Linked DNA regions of Homo sapiens: all the other regions are linked to region 1. The links are contacts of gene promoters, found by promoter capture Hi-C in human tissues and cell types (Jung and others, 2019). All regions are on one chromosome and are shown on one strand. The core of a region is centred on a gene start or on the middle of the fragment in contact, and the rest is flanking DNA. Distances in the headings are between cores, read along the strand shown. Region 1 holds the start of FTCD (formimidoyltransferase cyclodeaminase). Region 2 holds the start of DIP2A (disco interacting protein 2 homolog A). Region 3 overlaps PCNT (pericentrin). Region 4 overlaps PCNT (pericentrin).

What was found. The method cuts DNA at HindIII sites, captures the fragments that hold promoters and counts their contacts. A contact is called where the count stands out against the background at its distance.
Region 2: a contact is called between the fragment with the promoter of DIP2A here and the fragment with the promoter of FTCD in region 1, in 2 of the 25 tissues and cell types used here (lymphoblastoid cells and mesendoderm cells).
Region 3: a fragment that was not itself captured here is called in contact with the fragment with the promoter of FTCD in region 1 in 2 of the 25 tissues and cell types used here (H1 embryonic stem cells and lymphoblastoid cells).
Region 4: a fragment that was not itself captured here is called in contact with the fragment with the promoter of FTCD in region 1 in 1 of the 25 tissues and cell types used here (H1 embryonic stem cells).

What each region holds. Positions count from the first base shown.
Region 1 is chr21:46,153,239-46,158,142 of GRCh38, reverse strand. It overlaps FTCD (formimidoyltransferase cyclodeaminase), which reads left to right and starts at 2,564. Exons shown (of 14, transcript NM_206965.2): 1 at 2,564-2,673; 2 at 3,811-3,994. The coding sequence starts at 2,620. RefSeq lists enhancers at 2,791-3,494, 3,495-4,198, 4,199-4,902, 4,903-4,904. The HindIII fragment of the contact is 26,017 bases long and covers 1-4,904 here.
Region 2 is chr21:46,456,338-46,461,241 of GRCh38, reverse strand. It overlaps DIP2A (disco interacting protein 2 homolog A), which reads right to left and starts at 2,351. Exons shown (of 38, transcript NM_015151.4): 1 at 2,020-2,351. The coding sequence starts at 2,110. It overlaps LOC124905046 (a long non-coding RNA gene), which reads left to right and starts at 2,529. Exons shown (of 2, transcript XR_007067915.1): 1 at 2,529-2,915. RefSeq lists enhancers at 1,158-1,227, 2,998-3,137 and silencers at 1,948-2,017, 2,208-2,757. The HindIII fragment of the contact is 5,308 bases long and covers 1-3,371 here.
Region 3 is chr21:46,437,375-46,442,278 of GRCh38, reverse strand. It overlaps PCNT (pericentrin), which reads right to left. Exons shown (of 47, transcript NM_006031.6): 41 at 3,942-4,115; 42 at 2,077-2,196; 43 at 1,195-1,424. Among named protein-coding and RNA genes, the nearest start is that of DIP2A, 19 kb to the left of the region's middle. The HindIII fragment of the contact is 3,958 bases long and covers 156-4,113 here.
Region 4 is chr21:46,414,821-46,419,724 of GRCh38, reverse strand. PCNT (pericentrin) reads right to left here. Exons shown (of 47, transcript NM_006031.6): 30 at 2,886-3,656; 31 at 1,419-1,521. Among named protein-coding and RNA genes, the nearest start is that of DIP2A, 42 kb to the left of the region's middle. The HindIII fragment of the contact is 9,054 bases long and covers 1-4,904 here.

The DNA.
Region 1 (4,904 bases), core at 1,315-3,814:
CCAGAATGTTCCAGTGCCCCGCACCTCGGGACCCTGGATGTGTGCGGCTGCCGTCACAAAGTACCGCAGACCCAGCAGCTTAAACCACAGAAATTTATTCTATCACAGTCCTGAAGGCCCAGAGTACAAGATCAAAGTGTCTGCAGATTCTGTTTGTCTGAGGTCTCTCTGCTTGGCTTGCAGGCGGCCGCCTCCCTGCTTTGTCCTCCTGGCCTTTTCTCTGAGTGCATCCCTGGTGTCTCTCCCTCTTCTCACCGCCCTGTCCATCTCCACATCCAATCCAGTCGGCGGTGCTGGGGGTAATCCAGTCTGCCATGCTGGAGGTCAGGCCTTCAGCAGATGGTTTCTCGAGGGAATGCAGTGCGGCCCTCAACAGACCCCATCCTCCCCTCCTGGCCTCCAGACATGGATCCCTGACTCCATCCTCCCCTTGAGGCTCCACAGAGCTCTGACCCCATCCTCCCCTCCTGGTCTCCCTCCAGACACAGATCCCTGACCCCATCCCCCACTCCCAGCCTCCAGACGTGGAGCCCTGGCTGGGGAACTCTGTGTGCTCCCAGCCTCTGAAGGTTTCTGGGCTTACCTGGCTCCTGTCTCATCCCAGTCCCCCTGAGTAGCCACGGAGGTGGGGTCCCTAAGGCCCACATGGTTGGGGTTCCATTAAGAACTTCAAGTGGGTGGCTCACGCCTGTAATCCCAGCACTTTGGGAGACCGAGGTGGGTGGATCATGAGGTCAAGAGATCGAGACCATCCTGGCCAACATGGTGAAACCCCATCTCTACTAAAAATACAAAAAATTAGCTGGGTGTGGTAGCGGGTGCCTGTAGTCCCAGCTACTCTGGAGGCTGAGGCAGGAGAATGGCGTGAACCCGGGAGGCAGAGCTTGCAGTGAGCCAAGATCGCACCACTGCACTCCAGCCTGGGCGACAGAGCGAGACCCTGTCTCAAAAAAAAAAAAAAAAAAAAAAAAGAACTTCAAGTGGGGCTGGGCTCAGTGGCTCACACTTGTAATTCCAGCACTTTGGGAGGCCGAGGCAGGAGGATCGCTTGAGCCCAGGAGTTTGAGACCAGCCTGGGCAACGTGGTGAGACCTCATGTGTATTTGTCTGATAAAGACATACGCAAGACTGGGTAATTTTTAAAGAAAAAGCAGTTTAATGGACTCAACAGTTCCACAATCATGGTGGAAGGTGAAAGAGGAGCAAAGTCACGTCTTACAAGAGGGTGTGTGCAGGGGAACTGCCCTTTATAAAACCATCGGATCTCGTGAGACCATTCACTATCACAAAAACAGCACCGGAAAAAGCCGCCCCCGTGATTCAGTGACCTCCCACCGGGTCCCTCCCATGACGTGGGAACTATGGGCTCTACAATTCAAGATGAGATTTAGGTGGGGACACAGCCAAACCATATCACCATGTCTACCAAAAATGGAAAAGTTAGCCAGTGTAGTGGTGTGTGCCTGTGGCCCAGATGCTCAGGAGGCTAAGGTGAAAGGACCTCTTGAGCCTGGGGACCAAGGCTGCAGGAAGCCATGATTGTGCCGCTGCACTCCAGCCTGGCTGACAGAGTGAGACTTTGTCTCAAAAAAAAAAAAAAGAGAAAATGATAAAAGCACTGCAAGTGGGCAGCGGCTGAACGTGGAGACAGGAGTTCTCCCTTCTGAGCACGGCCCTGGTGCCGCTGACTTCGTGGGGAGCCTGTAGTCAGGGGAGCAGCAGCTGGGGAGAGCTGGGGTCTCAGCTGCCTTCCCCCATATCGCACATGCCCGTCTCGTGTGTATCTGCACTCTCACACGCGTGTTCCCCTGCCCTGCGCTCACATGTATCTGCACTCACTCTCACATGCTTGCTTCCCCTGCCCCATGCTCACGTGTACCTGCACTCTCACACGTGTGCTCCCCTACCCCACACTCACATGTATCCTCGCTCACTCTCACACGTGTTCCCCTGTCCTGTGCTCACATGTATCCACGCTCTCACACATGTGCTCCCCTGCCTTGTGCTCACGTGTATCTGCACTCTCACGTGTTCCCCTGCCCTGCCCTCACGTGTATCCTCACTCACTCTCACACGCGTGCTCCCCTGCACTCTCCTGTCTGAGCTGAGCTGACCTCAGTTGGGTGCTGCGAGCCAGGGCCTCATGCTGGCCTCTCGCCCTCCACAGCCCCAGGGGTCCAGGCTCCTCCAGGAACAAACGCAGGCCCCACGGGCTGCCTGGAAGGCCTCCCAGAAGGCAGCACAGGGTCACGAGGGTCACCCGCAGTGGCACAGGGAGGCCTCGTCACGACAGGATTCCAGCCAGGCTGGCCTGATGCTCCTGGGGGTCCTCGGCACATGCCCCTTCACCCTGGCATGTGCTTCTTTTCCGGGAACCCACACTCTGGCTGAGTGGAGCCATCCCCTCTGGGTCAACAGCACCCGGGGTGGCTCTGCAGCACCCCACTCCGCGGCTGCACAGGGACCTTGGCCCCACTGCTCCTTGTGCCTTGCTGGTTAATGAGAAGCCGGTGGGGAGGTGCTGCCGGTGAGCGTATAAAGGCCCTGGCGGCGGCTGCGGAGCACTGGCCCTGTCCTTCCATCTGCCCAGAGAGGAGCATCTGGATCAAGGTGCTGGCCATGTCCCAGCTGGTGGAATGCGTCCCCAACTTTTCGGAGGGGAAGAACCAGGAGGTGAGGCCCGAGGAGCTGGTCAAGCATCTAGGGCTGATGGGGCAGCTTGAGTGGCTAAGGCCCAGGCCATGGAGGAGGTGGTGGGCTTGGTGTCCCGGGTCGTCTTCCCAGGATGGGCAGAGCCGCTGCCCGTGGGCCCCAAGGACATCCCGTGGCTCAGGGCCCTGGGGAGTGCCTGACCCAGGGGTGGGTGGAACACGACTGGTGCTTGTGGGGGCTGAGGCTTGGCTGTGGCTTCAGGGGCCTTTCGGGTGCTTTCGGTGGGGGGTTGGGCAGATCTCTGGGCCTCAAAGGGCCTTGGTGCTCCCCCCTGAAAATGGGGCTCCTGCCACTGACTGAAAGGGCTGTGTGAGGCCACACGAGGTGGCCCAGCATGGTCCCCACTGCCGCCTCTCCATCTCCACTGGAGTTAGCTTGCTGAGCCCCCACCCTGCAGCCACCATCCTCACTGGACCCAAAACGAAGTAGGCACAGAGGGGGCAGCAGGCCCCCAGGTCCGGCCTCTCGCCTTCCACAGCCCTGAGGTCCAGGCTCCTCCGGGAACAAACGCAGGCCCTAAGGGCCACCTGGAAGGCCTCCCAGAGCGCAGCACCAGGCCACAGGGGTCACCCGCAGGGGTGCAGGGAGGCCTCGTCATGCCGGGATTCCAGCCAGCACCAAGGCCCTGGGACAGGGCAAGATTTGGGGCTGAGCCCCTGCTCCCAGCAGTCCTGCCACCCGGAAGGTTCTAGGCCCTTCAGGCCCCTCCCCCATGCTGGTGATCTGTCCCTCCCCTGCTCGGGGGTGGGGGTCCCGGCCCCTCTGTGACCTGCGCCTGTGGTCACCTTCTTGGATCCCCGGCCACGTCTCTGGCATCTGTCTGTCGGAGCAGAGCCCGTGAGTCTCTCCTGGAGGCACCACCTGCAGCCCCTTGTGGGGACTGTGCTTGGGCTGGAGTGACTGTGGCTGCTGTGAGGGTTCCCGGGCGGCCGCTGTGTGCGGGCACTTTCGGTGGGAGCTCAGCTTGTCGGAGAGCCCCCAAAGGCTTGGCCCGCCTCCTCAGCCCCCATTTGTGTCTCGGGGTGCAGCCACCTCCAAGCTCCTTTTCCTTCTTTCAAACGGGGAGACTGAGGTGTGGGGGCCGGGCCTGTGTCCCAGGTGATCGACGCCATCTCTGGAGCCATCACACAGACCCCGGGCTGCGTGCTGCTGGATGTGGACGCAGGCCCTTCCACCAACCGCACCGTGTACACCTTCGTGGGGCCGCCGGAGTGCGTGGTGGAGGGGGCCCTCAACGCTGCCCGGGTAGCTTCCCGACTTATCGACATGAGCAGGCACCAAGGTGAGGTCTCTGGGCTCTCCTGTGGCTGCCGTGTCTCAGAATGTCAGGGCCGAGCCCTGTCCTGGTGTCCTGGGAGAGGGGGTAGGCCCGGGGCCCAGGCTTGGAACGTGGGGTCCAGTGGGGCTGGCTCTGGCTCTCCTAGGAGGACCCTGGAGTGTGGGGGTCATGGCCCCCATCCTGCCTGCAGGGCTGTGCTCTGGGGGACCCCCAGGTCGCCACGCTCCCACAGCACCGGGCCACCTTCACGGCTGGGTGGGGGGAGGGGGCCACGCCGGGGAAGGTTTGTGGGCCCCGTCCACCTGCCCACTCGTCAAGGGGGCTGAGAGCCAGTCTTGGAGCAGGCACTGGTGGGGGAAGGGCTGCCTGGAAGCTGACCTGTCAACAGCCCACAAGCCAAACACCTCGGTGGGCAGGCAGGGCCAAAGGTGTGTGGACACACGGGCGCTGGCCAGGGGCTGGGCTGTGGGCCGCTCATGAGAGGCCAGGGATCCACAGTGATCCTGAGGGGTGGATGGATGAGAAGCTTATCTCTAAGTGGCCAGCCCTGGGCGGTGGCGGCAAAGGCGGGGGAGGCTGGCGTCCCCTGGGGTGGGCGCCGACCCACGGCTTGGTGTAGCCACAGCGAGGGACTCAGCTAGTGAGAAGAATGCTCTGGAAACGCAGAGTGGATTCTCGGCTTCAGGGGAGGGGGTTGGGGTGGCCGGAACCCAGCCTCGAGCGCCCCCTCTTGGCCTGGCCGGGGCTGCCTGAGAGCTGAGCTTTGCACCCCTTTCAAAGTTATTTTTGTGAGTGTTAGGAGAGGGACAGGTTTATCCCAGAGATGCCAGACCACCCGCTCAGGTGCTGCTGCTCCTGGGCTGAAGGACCTCCCCCACACTGGCTGGGAGGACGGTGCGGGAACTTCCGTTGT
Region 2 (4,904 bases), core at 1,102-3,601, 300 kb before region 1:
CCCAGGCTGGAGTGCTCCAGTGCTCAGGTGATCCTCCTGCCTCAGCCTCCCAAGTAGCTGGGACTACAGGTGCACACCACCATGCCCAGCTAATTTTTTTTAATACTGTAGAGACAGAGTCTTGCTATGTTACCCAAGCTGTTCTGAACTCCCGTCTCCAAGCCAACGTGGCCTCCCAAAGTGTTGGGATTACAAGCATGAGCCACTGTGTACTCAGCCTGTACTTCCATTTTTAAAAATGTGCCACAAGCCAGGCACGGTGGCTCATGCCTGTAATCCCAGCACTTTGGGAGGCCGAGGCAGGCGGACCACCTGAGGTCAGGAGTTTGAGACCAGCCTGGTCAACATGGTGATACCTTGCCTCTACTAAAAATACGAAAATTAGCTGGGCGTGGTGGCAAGCCCCTGTAATCCCAGCTACTCGGGAGGCTGAGGCAGAAGAATCATTTCTACCTGGGAGGCAGAGGTTGCAGTGAGCCGAGATCACGCCATTGCACTCCAGCCTGGGCAACAGAGCAAGACTCCGTCTCAAAAAAAAAAAATGTGCCACATGTCACAACATTGTTAAAAATCTGAATGCTGAATTCAAAATAGTTGCAAGTACATGTTGTATTATATGTAAAACAAGATCACAACAGCATCTACCTCCCTAAGGTTGGCAAGGATTAAATGACTTACTGTATGCTAGTGCATATTATTTAGATGTTTTGAGAAATAACTACCCCAGACCCAGCAAAATCTTATCAATCTGAAACTTAAATTAAGGATAATAAGATTATTTAAAAAATGGATTCTAAAAGCTGAAAATGCATTTAGATCTCAAAAACAGAGTAAGAATCAATTACATGCTTTTCTTCAAGGACTGCAAGTCCTTTCTGACACTGGAGAAGAACTTAACTCTTTCCCAAAGACAGCCAAAAGGAATATCAGGACACAGGCCTTGAAAGGGATAACATCCAAATGGGAAATGCCACCCACCACCTCTGAAGCCAGATTACTCCAGTCTATTTTTATCAACCAACCATTTATACGACTTTTTTTTTTTACTTTAAAAAATTCCATGAGGGGGCTAACAACTCCTAAGTGTTATGTGCTTTGCATATATTAAGGTATTTTAGCCTCATAACAATCCAAAATGGAAAGTGCTGGTATAACCCCACTTTATAGATAATAAAATGAGGCACAGGGTGCAGCTCCTAGAGTATGAGGCGCGCGGCAAGGGCTCCCAGCTCCAAGGGAAGTAGCTGCCTGCGGACAACGGGCGCAGTCATCCTGGTGAAGCCCAGACCAAGCCCAGACCTACAGCCTTGAGAAAAGCGGGGCTCACAGCTTGGGGCAAAAGTGGTCATTCCTCTCAAGATTCTCACACCTGTCCAAACGACCTAGTCAAAGCCAGTCCTTGGGGTCGGATCCCATTGGGGGAGCAGCTGGGGATAGGGAAAGGTCTCCAGAAGTTTGGCAGGCGTCCCGGGGTGAGGAGTAAGGGTCCCAGGTGTGAAGGGCCTGGGGGGAGGAGTCCTTGTATGGGGGAGGGGTCCTTGTATGAGAGGCGGGGCAGTGGTCCCTGGTTTGAGGGGCCGCGCGGGTGTCCCGGGGCTGAGGGTCGGGAGTCCGGAGGGGCAGCGCGGGGCTCCCAGGGTGAAGGGCGGGGTCCCCGGGGTGAGGGGCCGCGCGGGGTTCCGGGGGTGAGGGGCAGGAGGTCCCGGGGGTGAGGGGCGGGAGTTCCCGGGGGTAAGGGGCCGGGGTCTCGGGGCGAGGGGTCGTGCTGGGGTCCCACATGAGGGGCGGGGTCCTAGGGTTGAGGAACGGTGTCTCCGGGGCGAGGGGCGGGTTCCAGGGTAGAGGAACCGGGGTCCCGTTGAGGGGCAGAGGTCCCAGGGGCGAGGCCGCGTGGGGGTCCCGGGGGTGAAGGGCGGGGGTCCTGGAGTGAGGGGCCGCGCGGGGGTCCCGGAGTGAGGGGCTGCGCGGGGGACCGGGCTGAGGGCGGGTCGCGGGGGTTGAGGGCGGGGTCCGGCTCACCTTCCGACAGCTCCAGCTCCAGCTCAGCCAGGCTCTCCCGCACCTCGGCAGGCAGCGGCGCCGCCTCCAGCGGGCACCCGCGGTCAGCCATGGCCAGGCCGGCTAGCGTCCGGGCAGAGGCTGGAACCGGACCGGGCCTGGCGGCGGCAGCGCAAACCTCGGCTACGTAGCTCCCCTCAGGCCAACAACCTACATCCGCCAGGCGAGGAGCGGGAGGCGGCGGGACAGGGGCGCGGCCAGGACAGCAACGCACCCGCGCGGGCACGAGCGCGGATGGCTCCGCCGCGCCGCCGCTGCCCCGCGCGCTCCTGAGCGCCCGGCCGGCCCTACACGGGAGCGCGTGCGCGGCGGGAAGGGCGGGTAGCGAGCGCGCGTGCGCAGTGGGTCTCGGGCCCGCGCAGCCCTCCCGGCCCCGCCCAGCAACACCAGAGCCTCGCTTCCATTGGCCCCGAAGACGCGTCGATGCCGCTCCGGGCTCCCATTGGGAGAGGCGGGAGAGCGCCGCTCCCGACAGGCTCTGCGCTGGGCCTGCTTGAGGGTGGCGGGCTTGAGGCGGGCAGGCTGCTTAGTTGCGGCCCGAGGCGCCTAAGTGGGGATGACCAACCCGTGGGCGTTGGCGCTGACCCCTAGGCGCCGCTGGTGGCCCCGCGCGCGGCCCTCCGGCCAGCCCCGCCCCTCTCGGGGCTCCTCCTTGGTCCCCGCGCCATGGCGCGTCCGCGTTGACCGCTGTCTTCCCTTTCGGGCTGTGCTGATCGCGAACGCTGCGCAGTCCGTGGTGGCGTCGAGGCACCTTTCTCGTGCCTTTACCTGTGTTCACTCCTTTGCTTTAAAAAACAGCCCTAGAAGTACACATCGTTGGCCCCGAAGGAGCCCCAGCAGCCATGTCGGACCGCGAGGTGACCTTGGAGGGCGGGAGGACGGACGAGGGGCCTGGCGGAGCTAGACTGAGAGGGCGCCGCCGGCGTCCTGAAGGCCCTGCTCCCCGAATGTGTGGGAGTGTGTCTGACGGTGCGAGGGTGGCTGTGGCGGGGCCTGAGCAGCGTGTCCGTGTCCCGATGCCGCCCGCCTGTTACTGAGTTAGGCAGGAGTGCCCGAGTCTGGCGAACTTCAGCAGTTCTCGTTCCAGAGCTCCACACGAGGTTGGCCAAAGCTTTGCGGGACTTACATACCCTTCTTCCTCCGCCCAGTCCTGCTTCCTTCCCCTTCCTTTCACGGGTGTTGATACCATGTCAACATCCTCGTACCCCAAACTCAGTCGCAGCGTCTGCTTCTGGAGAAACCATTCTGCAGCATTAAAGCTGGTGAGAAGATGGGATTCGAGGCTGCATCACTCACCAGTGGTGAAGTAGGAGGGTGAACTAGTGAAATGGAATCCACGAGTGGGTGAAGTATCAGACATTTCATATATGGTGAACGTAGTAGATAAAAGGAAGGAAAGGGGGATTGGATAGCTATTGCTTAGTGCCAACCGAGACTCTTAAGAATAGTGGTCAGCTGAAGGCAAGCAACAAACAGTTGTAAGCCAGTGAATCTGTCCCGTTACATATAGAGAAGCTTCATTTACTGCAGCAGGTCAAAGACAAGAACCAGGCCCAGGAATTAACATCCCTGTTTGACTGAACTCCAAAAATAGCAAAACACCCAAACAAGGCAATACTCTTCCACTAAGTTTGGATCCCTGCTAAGAAAAGATGAGGCTGGGCACAGTGGCTCACACCTGTAATCCCAGCACTTTGGGAGGCCAAGGCGGGAAGATTGCTTGAGTTCAGGAGTTCAAGACCAGCTTGGGCAACATGACAAAACCCCATCTCTACTGAAAACACAAAAAATTAGCCGGGCATGGTGGCCACGGCTGTGGTCCCAGCTGCTTGGGAGGCTAAGGTGGGTGGATCACCTGAGCCCTGGAAGTCAGGGCTGTAGTGAGCTGTGACTGCACTCCAGCCTGGGCAACAGGAGTGAGACTCTGTCTTTTAAAAAAAAAAAAGAAAGAAAAGAAAAGCCCGTCATACATGGGTTGGAGATACCTGGGTAGATGCCTTCAAAGGTTTTGACTCCCCAAACTGCCTTAAACCTTTTTTTCGTAGACAGTGTCTCACTCTGTTGCCCAGGCTGGAGTGCAGTTGCTGGATCATGGCCCACTGTAGCCTCAACTTCCTGGGCTCAAACGATCCTCCCACCTGAGCCTCCTAAGTAACTGGGACTACAGGTATGTGTCACCACACCTGGATACATTTTTTATTACTTGTAGAGGCAAGGTCTTGCTATGTTGCCCGGGCTTGTCTCAAACTTCTAGGCTCCAGTGAGCCATCACACCTGGCCTGCCTTGAACCTGAAGCCTGCCGGGGTGGCTCACCTCTCCTATTAACCTGACACTACTCCTCCTCCCTCCACTTACTGCTCAGTAGATGTATAATTATGGTTGTTTCTTTTGCATTATTCAGCTGGAAACAATGAGATAGAAAAGAGAATATAGCTCCCTCCCCCTCAGAAGAACTGCGTTATTAGTTTGCTGGGGCTTCAGTAACAAACTGGGCAGACATTTATTGTCTCCCAGTTCTGGAGGCTAGAAGTCTGAGATCAAAGTTTTCACAGGGTTGGTTCCTTCTGGGGCTGGGAGGGAGAATCTGTCTCATGCCTCTCTCCCAGCTTCTGGTGGTTTGCTGGCAGTCTTTGGTTCCTTGGCTTATAGAGGCATTGTCCCAGTCCTGCCTTTATATTCACATGGTGATCTTGTTGTGTGTGTCTCTCCAGACGAAGGCATAAGTAACATCATTGACAAAGGTCATTCGACATGGGCCTCTTTTTAGAAGGACACCAGTCATACTGATTAGGGCCCACTCTAATGAGCGCATCTTAACTTGTCTACAAAGACCCATTTCCAAATA
Region 3 (4,904 bases), core at 885-3,384, 280 kb before region 1:
CCCAACCACCTGACAAAGCCTCACTGCGGCCCCACCGTGGACCATATGGTCCCCTAGACACCCACCATGGCCCAGCTCAGGACGACTCCAGTTCAAAGTCAGCCGGCCACACCAGTGACTAGGAAACACATGCCGCTCCCGCCTGGTGTGCAGGACCCTCCCATCTTCATCCTGTCACAGATGCCACTGGACAGGCTCAGAACACGGAGACCCCAGCCCTCGCAGGAGTCCGTCAGATGGTGAGCATGCAGAGTGCAGGTGACGAGGGCATGCAGGTCAGTGTGCAGGGCCCCAGACGCCCTGCTAGGATGGCCTTCGGAACAAGCATCATGCCTGTGGCTTCCCTCCTTTGAGGCATAGCAGACACTGCCGATTCCTCCATAAGACCTGTCAAGGCCCCTTGGTGGCAGCTACCCTAGGCAGTGCCCTCACAGGGACACAGAGACTGCTCCTTTCTGGGACACCACTGCCTTCAAAAGATCTCCCCTCCTCGACAGGAGGTAGGATCTGGGTCTGCTTACCTCCCCTATCTAGTGCCTAAAATGCTTCCTCCTGCAGGGTGTTCTCCCCATGAACACAGGATGGACAGATGGGTGGGTGGAAGGATGGACGGTGGAGGCCTACGGTCAGGGGAGCTCAGAGACGAGGAGACAAAGTGCCCCAGGACCAGAGAAGCTGAGAGTACAGCAACCCAGGAGGCCTCGCCTGCACCCCACTTTGGCCCAGCCTGCAGCCGCGATGACTGAACTGGCTCGGCACCTGGTCTCTGAAAGGAGCGGGATTCCTAGCTGCTCTCTGCTGCATCTGCTACTCCAGACAGGCCCGCGCGTGGCCTTGGGAAACACCTCTGTGGCATCAGGGAGCAGGCACAGCCGCACAGTGTTTAGGGGGAAAAACAGTTTTAGAAATTCAGCACGTTCTTTGTGGCACGAAACCCATTAAAAGTCAAGATGTTCCTCTGTAATACAAAGGTGCCCTTAAATCTTTAGTTTTAGAAGGTGAGAGATTCATACACATGACTTCTTGAAGACAAGTTCATCATCTGTATTTTCTCTAAGGCCTCAAATGCCATTCATCTTTAAAAAGAACATATTATGGAGTTTCAAGGAATAAAATGACCAAAAAACCATGCAGTGTGCTGCCCACTCACGGAGACAGACGCGGAACGCACTGACTGAACGTCATGGCATTTACCTTAATATTGCAATGACCACCCTGACGGCCGTGCGGAACCTGGTGAAAGGACGAGATGTGATTTTCCGTTCTGCTTTGGAAGGAAATACCCCCAAATGGGCAATCATGGAGAGTGTTTCTTGTTCAGAATCCTGGAATCCACCAATCAACAGCAAAAGATACTTCTTTTGATAAATCAGAGCTTTTCTAAAGCTCTCTGCTCTCAAGTAATGCAGGTACAATTTTTCCATCTAAAAGAAAAAAAGCAGTAAAATTTTATCATAGGAAACAAAGACTGTCTTGCTGACAAAAGCACATTAACACCATTGCTCTTTCCAAAGAGTCAGATTGTTTTTTCCCATCAAATCATCACAGAGCCATCGGCCTTCCAACAGTATCTGTGGCCAGAAACAACCTTGCTGTTGGAAGATCAATTTGTGTTTGTCAGACAAGATCTAGGACCACAAGCTCCTCTCCACAGCATCATCAAATGAGCCCCTATGAAGCTTCTTGCATTTCACCCCTTAGGTAAGGTCCAAACTGGGCATGAGATGGACGTCACGGGGTGGGGACCGTGTGCCATCAGGAGACTGCAGCAGATCTTGGGCCGAATCCCGGCAAGCCCCTGGGCCAGGCCTCCCTCAGGCTGCAGAGGCCGCCATTTGCTGACTTTGTCAAAGCCTTCCACGTTCCACGCTTAACAAGCACAGAAACTCAGTATTTGTGCACAATTAAAACAAAATTCAAGCCGAAGTTTATTCTGTGAACGTCCTTTCCTTTAGTGATGTGACTGCTACACCCGGCAGACGAGAACCTTGTGGTCACAAAAATGCTTTGCCTGCAATTTGCAAACCCAGGACTTAAAAAAGCACCAAAGTTCTATACTCGTGGCACCGTTCCTACCTTGACATTGCTGGTGTGTGCTTCCTCGCTGGCAGCTGGTGGAAGCCGGCCGGGGTCTGGGCGCCTCAGGGAACTCTGTGGAGCCGTTTCGTCTGGCTTCCAAGCAGACCTTTCCGACCTCTGTAAGGAAGCACAGCCAGCGCTGTCTACAGAGCTGCTCGTCAACAAGAGCATCTTAGAGACGCAGCCGGGGGCAGGTGAGGGAGAAGGCCATGTGCGGGGAGGCCAGGCTGACCACACCACACCTGGCCCCTCCTCAACTTCAGCACCCCCTCAGCAGGGCCTAGGTTACGCCGTGCTGTGATCAGCCAAAGAATTAACATGGAGTAATTACGACATGCCACTTGCTGAAGTATGATTGCAAAAAAGGTACATTTTAACAGAAACAGAAAACCAATTCTTTGTAAAATCACCCCAAATTCAAAGCTTTAAGCCTTAAACACTCTCATATTCTCCGGTCCTAGAAATGCCAACCACTGGTAACTACAAGCACAGTCAACTCTCGACAGCTGTGGGTTCCACATCCATGGATTCAACCAACTGTGGGTGAAAAATATTCAGAAAAAACGATGTGTCTGTACCAAACGTGTGCTTCTTTTCTTGCCCCTACACCCTAAACAATACAGGATGACAACTATTTACGTGGCATTTACACTGAATGAGGTGCTGCAAGTGATCTTAGAGATGACTTAAGAGTGTACGGGAGGACGTGCACAGGTTGCTGCTGACACCACTGCAGGTCAGGAGGCTGAGGCAGGAGGATCCCTGAACCTGGGAGGTCAAGGCTGAAGTGAGCTGTGACTGCTCCACTGCACTCCAGCCTGGGAGATGCAGCAAGGCCCTGTCTCAGAAAAAAAACCCAAAAAGTGAAAAAAGCCAGTTTAGGAGGTCCCAGACGGGCTGGTTCCACTGACACACCTTTCTGGGAGAGAGCCAGGGCCTGTGGCAGGCGGAGATGCCTGCTGCTCTTTTTGGGGGGGCCATCGCTGTGTGCTCTGTGAATGGTGGTTACTTATGAAGGTTACAGGGATGTGTGTGTGTGTGAACTTGTATGACACTACACCAGGAAAGGGCAAATTTTACTGTATGTAAATTTAAAAATAATTTTTAAAAAGTTATAAAAAATAAAGCAAATCACAAACAAAATAGCCTAAATACAAAAGAAAAAAAAATGAGACATTCCGGAAGATAACTCTATCCAACTATACCATTATGAAAATTATAAGTCACTTTAGGCCGGGCACGGTGGCTCATGTCTGTAATCCCAGCACTTTGGGAGGCTGAGGTGGGCGGAATCACGTCAGGATTTTGAGACCAGCCTGGCCAACATGGCAAAACCCCATCTCTACTAAAAATATAAAAATTAGCCATGTGTGGTGGCGGGCACTTGTAATCTCAGCTACTTGGGAGGCTGACACAGGAGAATTGCTTGAACCTGGGAGGTGGAGGTTGCAGTGAGCTGAGATCGCACCACTGCACTCTAGCCTGGGCAACAGAGCAAGACTCGGTCTCAAAAAAAAAAAAAAAAAAAAATTATAAATCACTTTAACTAAAACTCTAAATTAGATCAGATTATAATATTCTTAGTCAAAATACCCTTTTATGAACATGCACCAAACATCAAGTAGCGGTCAGGGTCAGTGAGGACGCCGTCTGTGGCGGAGCTGGAAGTCGGCTGAGATGTTCAAACATCCCACAACATTTAGCAAGGCTTCAGACAGAGGCAACAGAGCCTGGCGGTTAGGGAGAAGGTGACGCCCACATCCCCAGGTCCCTAAAGGGAGCCCGGCCTCTTGTGGGGTGGAGCTGCTCTGGACCATGGTGGGTTAGGCTGAGGCAGGTAAGAGTTAAGCACAGACACCTACGCTTGGGCTGCAGCCCTTCTGCAGATGGTGCTTCAGCAACTTCTCAAGCTTAGACACGGCTCTGCTCAGCTCCAGCTTCTCCTGGGTCACCGTGCTGAGCGCTTTTGTGAGGGAAACATTGTCTTTCAGCAGGACGTCCACAAACTGGAACTGCAGCTCTGCTGCCATTTTTTTCTTGGAGAAAAGAAAATAAATTTGTAAGAATTTGTTGTTAAAGGGCATGAACATTACTTGTGTTTTTTGTCAACAGTTATTTTTAGGGATTGTAATTAATGTGTCTGGGGTTCAATGAGAAGCTTGTGGAGCTGGCAGAAAATTGTAAAAGTCATTGAATCACAGACTTTGCACGCAACTGGCTTGTATGAACAACGCAGGCCTGTCACAAAGCATAGCCCGTTTGGTTGTTCTAACAGCACTGAAATTAACAGGTGGCTGGACCGTTGTTAGTTCATCCCAAGGGGGCGGATGTGAAGCCCCTCAAAACAGGTTTATTACTTCCACCATCAAAAGGACGTTCAGCCTGTGGAGGGTGGGCACGCTGAAAGGTCACCAGGGCCCAACACAGGGGGCAGGGTGCACCCCACCCACAACGACGTTCAGCTGGCGGGGCCAGAGGGTAAGCGGCGCAGCTCCCCTGCACCTCACATGCGTGGGCTCCACGATCAAAGTCATGATTTCATAAATGCCACAGAACACACATCAAGAATTTATACCAGCAGCCAGATTCCCACCTCCTTCAGAGGCAGCTTACAGTGAGCTCAGACTTTCCAAGGAGGACTTGGGTTTTTGTTTCTAGCAAAGGCCGTCAACGCAAACACAAAGCCAGCAGGCTGGGCCAGGTGGAGGTGAACATCGGCCGCCAGCACCAGAGCAGAACCATAGCCCCTCCTGACCAGCGACCTGCAATGTGTCCAGGTCATGCACAGCGAGCAGCATGTGAGGGGGCTCTACCAGTCACGCAGC
Region 4 (4,904 bases), core at 1,649-4,148, 260 kb before region 1:
CCGCCTGGGAGCCCCTGAGAGTTGTTGGGGAAGCACCTGCTGTGCTTGGAAGGCTTGGATGACATTCACCTGGACACTGTGTGCGAGGACAGCAGTGAAGCACACAGGAGAAACTGAGCCAAGAAAAACAAAAGTGGCTCGAGGGGGACGCACGCTCCCAGCGGCTCTGCTGGAACACGGGGCGCGTCCTTTAAGGGCAAACCTTGGCTGTGACAGCACAGGGCGTGCAGACTGCACCTCGTGTAGCAAGGGGCGTGTGGCGAGGGGCTAGGAGGGCTGAAGATGCCACTTTAAACAGCAAATAGAGTTTGAAAATAAAGCAAATACGAGAAGACATTTCTGAGAGTTGAATGTGGCATCCCCAGGGAGCTGCAGTCCTGAGTGGGGAGCTGGGACACAGGCTGCTCAGGAAACGGTCCCCTCAGCACCCATAACTGTCACCCTGCGTGCTCACTATTCATCAAATAAATAAAAACAAAATTAAAAAGCTGCTGGCCCTACTCTGCAAATACTAAAATTTCTAATTAAATTGTGACCATGTTCTCAAAAAACACTAAATCGCTGAAAAATCCAACAGATTTTTTAAAAAGTTAGAGCACCTCAAAAGGTGACTGACTTGTAAAAAGACAACAATTATAGAAAAAGTTATGAAATGAAAAAAAGGACGGTGTGGCAGGTAACCGCCACAACAACTGATGCGGGCCAGGGCAACCAAGGGAGGCTGAGACCAGTGGGCGTGAGCATGAGAGGGAAGAGAATACTCAGTCTCCGCATCTCCCACAGAAGGAGGTGGAGGAAACCTGGCAGGCACCATCACAGACAAAGGCCCAAGTCAAGCCCACGCACCTCCCGCCACGAGGTCCGGGGAGACGCAGCCCCCCACGCACCATCGCGAGGACACGCCACAGTCAGCGGCCCCTCGGCTCCTCTCCAGGGCCGGTGCCCCGAAACCCACAGCAGAGAGAGGGACGTCCACCCCAAGGGGAGGGAAAGGCAGGGTGGGCAGGCAAGGCAGCAGAGCCTGGAAACATGGCGTGCACCGCCCCAGTCTCCATCCTGCCAAAGACACCTGAACACAGCCTGTGAGCTGGGGTGTCTTTTCCATAAAGGACACTACTGGGACAATGGGTGAATCTGAGCAAGGTCTGTAGCTGTAGCTGAGATGCCAGCCTTGGATCAGGGTGAACATTCCAGGGTGGAGCGTGGCCCGGGCCAGCAACCTTGGCTCTGTGAAAGGTACAGGCGTGTTTTCAGAAGTCAAGAGGCCCCAGGTGCACGCCCGACAAAGCGCAGAGCCGGGGTGGAGGTCAGCGGGGGGCAGACGCAGAACCAGGCAAAGGATGCAGGAATTCTTTTGACTATTCTGTGCTAGGAAACCACTGAAATAAAAAATTAAAAATGAAAGATAACCAACTCACTTTTCTCACTTCTATCAGCTTTTCCTTCTAATCCAGGAGGAGGTGAACTTAATGTTTCTTGAGAATCAAAGGATGTTGTGATAAAATCTTCGACATCTTTCTCCTGTTAAGAGATTTTTAAATGGTCATAAAATAATGAGTAATTACATCATAGCGCTGACTTTGCCAGGTGAAAACTTTCAAAGGCCTGAATTTATCTTCCCACATAGACCCCAGATGAAACAACTCAAAACTGGTGAACACACAGGTCGAATGCTTCCAACAATTTAATCAGATTCACCCACAGCTCTTTAGGAATATTTTAATGTAGCCAATAGTAAATATTTCAGATTTAAATTGTTTTGCATGAAATGATAGTATATGGATGTTTCAGATAATATGTATCTGCTAAATTATTATTTTTTGAGGGAGGGTCTCACTCTGTCACCCAGGCTGGAGTGCAGTGGTTCAATCTTGGCTCACTGCATCCTCAACCTCCCAAGGTCAAGTGATCCTCCTGCCTCAGCCTCCTGAAGAGCAGGGACCATGGGCGGCACCAGCACGCCCAGCTAATTTTTTGTGTTTTTTTTGTAGAGACAGGGTCTCACCGTGTTACCCAGCCTGGTCTCAAATTCCTGGGCTCAAGCAATCCTCCCGCCTCAGCCTCCCAAAGTGCTGAGACTACAAGCATGAGCCCAACCATACCTGATTTTTAATTTTATCTTACTCAAGATACACAAAATCCCAAAATGATTATGTTAGAAATAATACGATCTAACTCATAAATTAAAATTAATTAGCATATGTGAAACCTGTTAAAAATATGAAGCATTTCTGGCTGAGCATGGTGGCTCACGCCTGTAAGCCCAGCACTTTGGGAGGCTGAGGTGGGTGGATCATGAGGTCAGGAGTTCGAGACCAGCCTGACCAATAAGGTAAAACCCCGTCTCTACTAAACTACAAAAATTAGCCGGGTGTGGTGGCGTGTGCCTGTAGTCCCAGCTACTAGGGAGGCTGAGGCAGGAGATTTGCTTGAACCTGGGGAGGCGGAGGCTGCAGTGAGCCGAGATTGCGTCACTGCACTCTAGCCTGGGTGACAGAGCGAGACTCCATCTCACAAAAAAAAAAAAAAAAAAAAAAAAAGGAAGCATTCCTAAAAATAAATCTAAAAAACCATTCTGGACAAAGAACCCTATGCCCATCACACACGAAGACGTGTCTGGGCTATGCCCGTTGGAGTCAGCGTCAGTGGAGAAGCATGCCCAGGGTATGTCTGAGGCAGGCAAATGCATCTCAGGCATTTTAAAAATACCTGAACAACTGAAATAATCTAAATGCGCCCATGATGCCAGTCCTGCAGAGCTGGCCCCACACAGCACTGCGAGGTGTGTGCTGTCAGGAGGTGAACAAACAATGGCAGCTGCCGTGGCGCCGGGCAGACCACATTCCCACGGGAACAGCAGGCCTGGGAGCAGAGCAGGCACCTACCACAGCCGTCCTCTGCACATGGTGGTCGTCAGCCGGCGGAGACTCGGCCCACTGCAGTGCCAGCGCTGCTGCAGACACGCCTGGGGAACAAAGCAGCCCCGGCCCCTGGGTCTGTGGCAGCGAGGTGTCCGCCCTGTCCCCCAGGGATGTGTCGGCACTGCACAGGCTCAGGGCTCCTGAGTGGGGTGTCACGGGGAGGCTGGGCCAGGGCTCCAGGGTCCAGTCCTTCCTGAGGACCTCAGGGGAGCTCCAGGAAGACAGGTCCAGCATCCCGACCGGGCTCTTCCGGGGCCCAGCCTCTGCAGTGTGGCTCTGGTGGCGGGAGCCACCAAGTACGCTGGTCGGTGAAGAAAGAGACATGTCCTGACATTCTGATTTTTCTTGAATGGGAGAATCTGGCATTTCATCTGGTATCAAGGAATCCCAATTTTTGATAACATCAGTTACACCCCCTGGGGTTGTATTGGCATCACACGCGTCTATGGCCTGATTTTTGATAACATCAGTTACACCCCCCGTGGCTGTATTGGCATCACATGTGTCTATGTGGGGTGATATGTCAGGCTCTTCTCCGTCACAGGAATCATCACTCCAGCTGCTCTCCAACAGGTGTGCTGAGGCCATGGGCCACAGAGATTTGGTGTCGGCAGCATCCACATTCTGGAAGGTCATGGAATACAGCAAACGGTTCAGTTTTTCCTGAAGCTGTTTCACCTGAGCTACGAGATCGACCTTCGGCAGCTGACAATCTTCCAGTACTTTTTCTTTACCCTGCAGGTGAAACAGAACAGGTGCACGGTGGAATACCTGGCTCACCAGGAGTCGCACCTGTCTGGTGTTAATGAGTGGATTTCAGGGAGTTTCGGAGCACTCGGGTGATTCCACAATGAGCCCTGCACATTTCAAGTTTATTTAATTCTATGAGAAACAGAACCAAGGCTTACATCTCCTTGCTTAAAAGGCAACTGTCATAACCTATTTCTGCGGTGATTGAGGACACAAGCTTCATACAAGGGAAAAAGGATGGGAAGGTTCTATATCTGAGCACCGAAAACACAAAATTGTGGTTTATGTGATGAATTTGGAGTTTCTGTGTGTGTAACTTCTAAGAATTTGGCAGGCAGGGCTGAGCTTTCTCTTAAGAATTCAAAAAATTGGGCCGGGTGCAGTGGCTCACGCCTGTAATCCTAGCATTTTGGGAGGCTGAGACAGGTGGATCACGAGGTCAGGAGTTCGAGACCACCCTGGCCAAAATGGTGAAACCCTGTCTCTACTAAAAATACAAAAATTAGCCAGGCATGGTGGCGGGTGCCTGTAATCCTAGCTACTCGGGAGGCTGAGGCAGTGAATTGCTTGAACCCAGGAGGTGGAGGTTGCAGTGAGCCAAGATCTCAAGATCTCGCCACTGCACTCCAGCCTGGGCGACAGAGCGAGACTCTGTCTCAAAAAAAAAAAAAAAAAAAAAAAAAAAAAATTCAAAGAAACGTTCCTGTCATGAGGGCCCCAAGACTGTTTGCCGCAGGAGATGCGAAGGGCTCTCCACACAGGATGTATTTCCCGAGAGCACATGACAAGCACACGAACCAGGTTCATGGGTCTCCTCAGAACTGCGGGCCTAGGCCCATCCTTCCCTGATTTCTGTGGAATTAAGAATCTTTCAGGCTCTAAACGCCAATGAGGTGCACGCAGTGTGGACCCAGGAACAGGCGGCACCTGCACTCATGCAAGAAACGTCCCAGCGACGTGCGGGACACTCACGAGGGCTGCGAGGGGCTCGGGTGAGCCCAGGTCTCAGCAGGCTTCAGCACCAAGCATGCTTCCGTGCCACCCTAGAGACCATAAAACACCTGCCCAGCACTTCTGGTGTTAGAGCCTCTGGGTTTCAGAGCCTGGAGGAGTAGTTGGGGCACATTTAGCAAACAGCAGGGAGGAGGGGGAGGAGGAAGAGCAGGGTGGGTGGCTGTGTGTCCAGCAGGAGGAGGGTAGGTGTCTGTGTGTCCAGGAGGAGGAGGAGCAGGG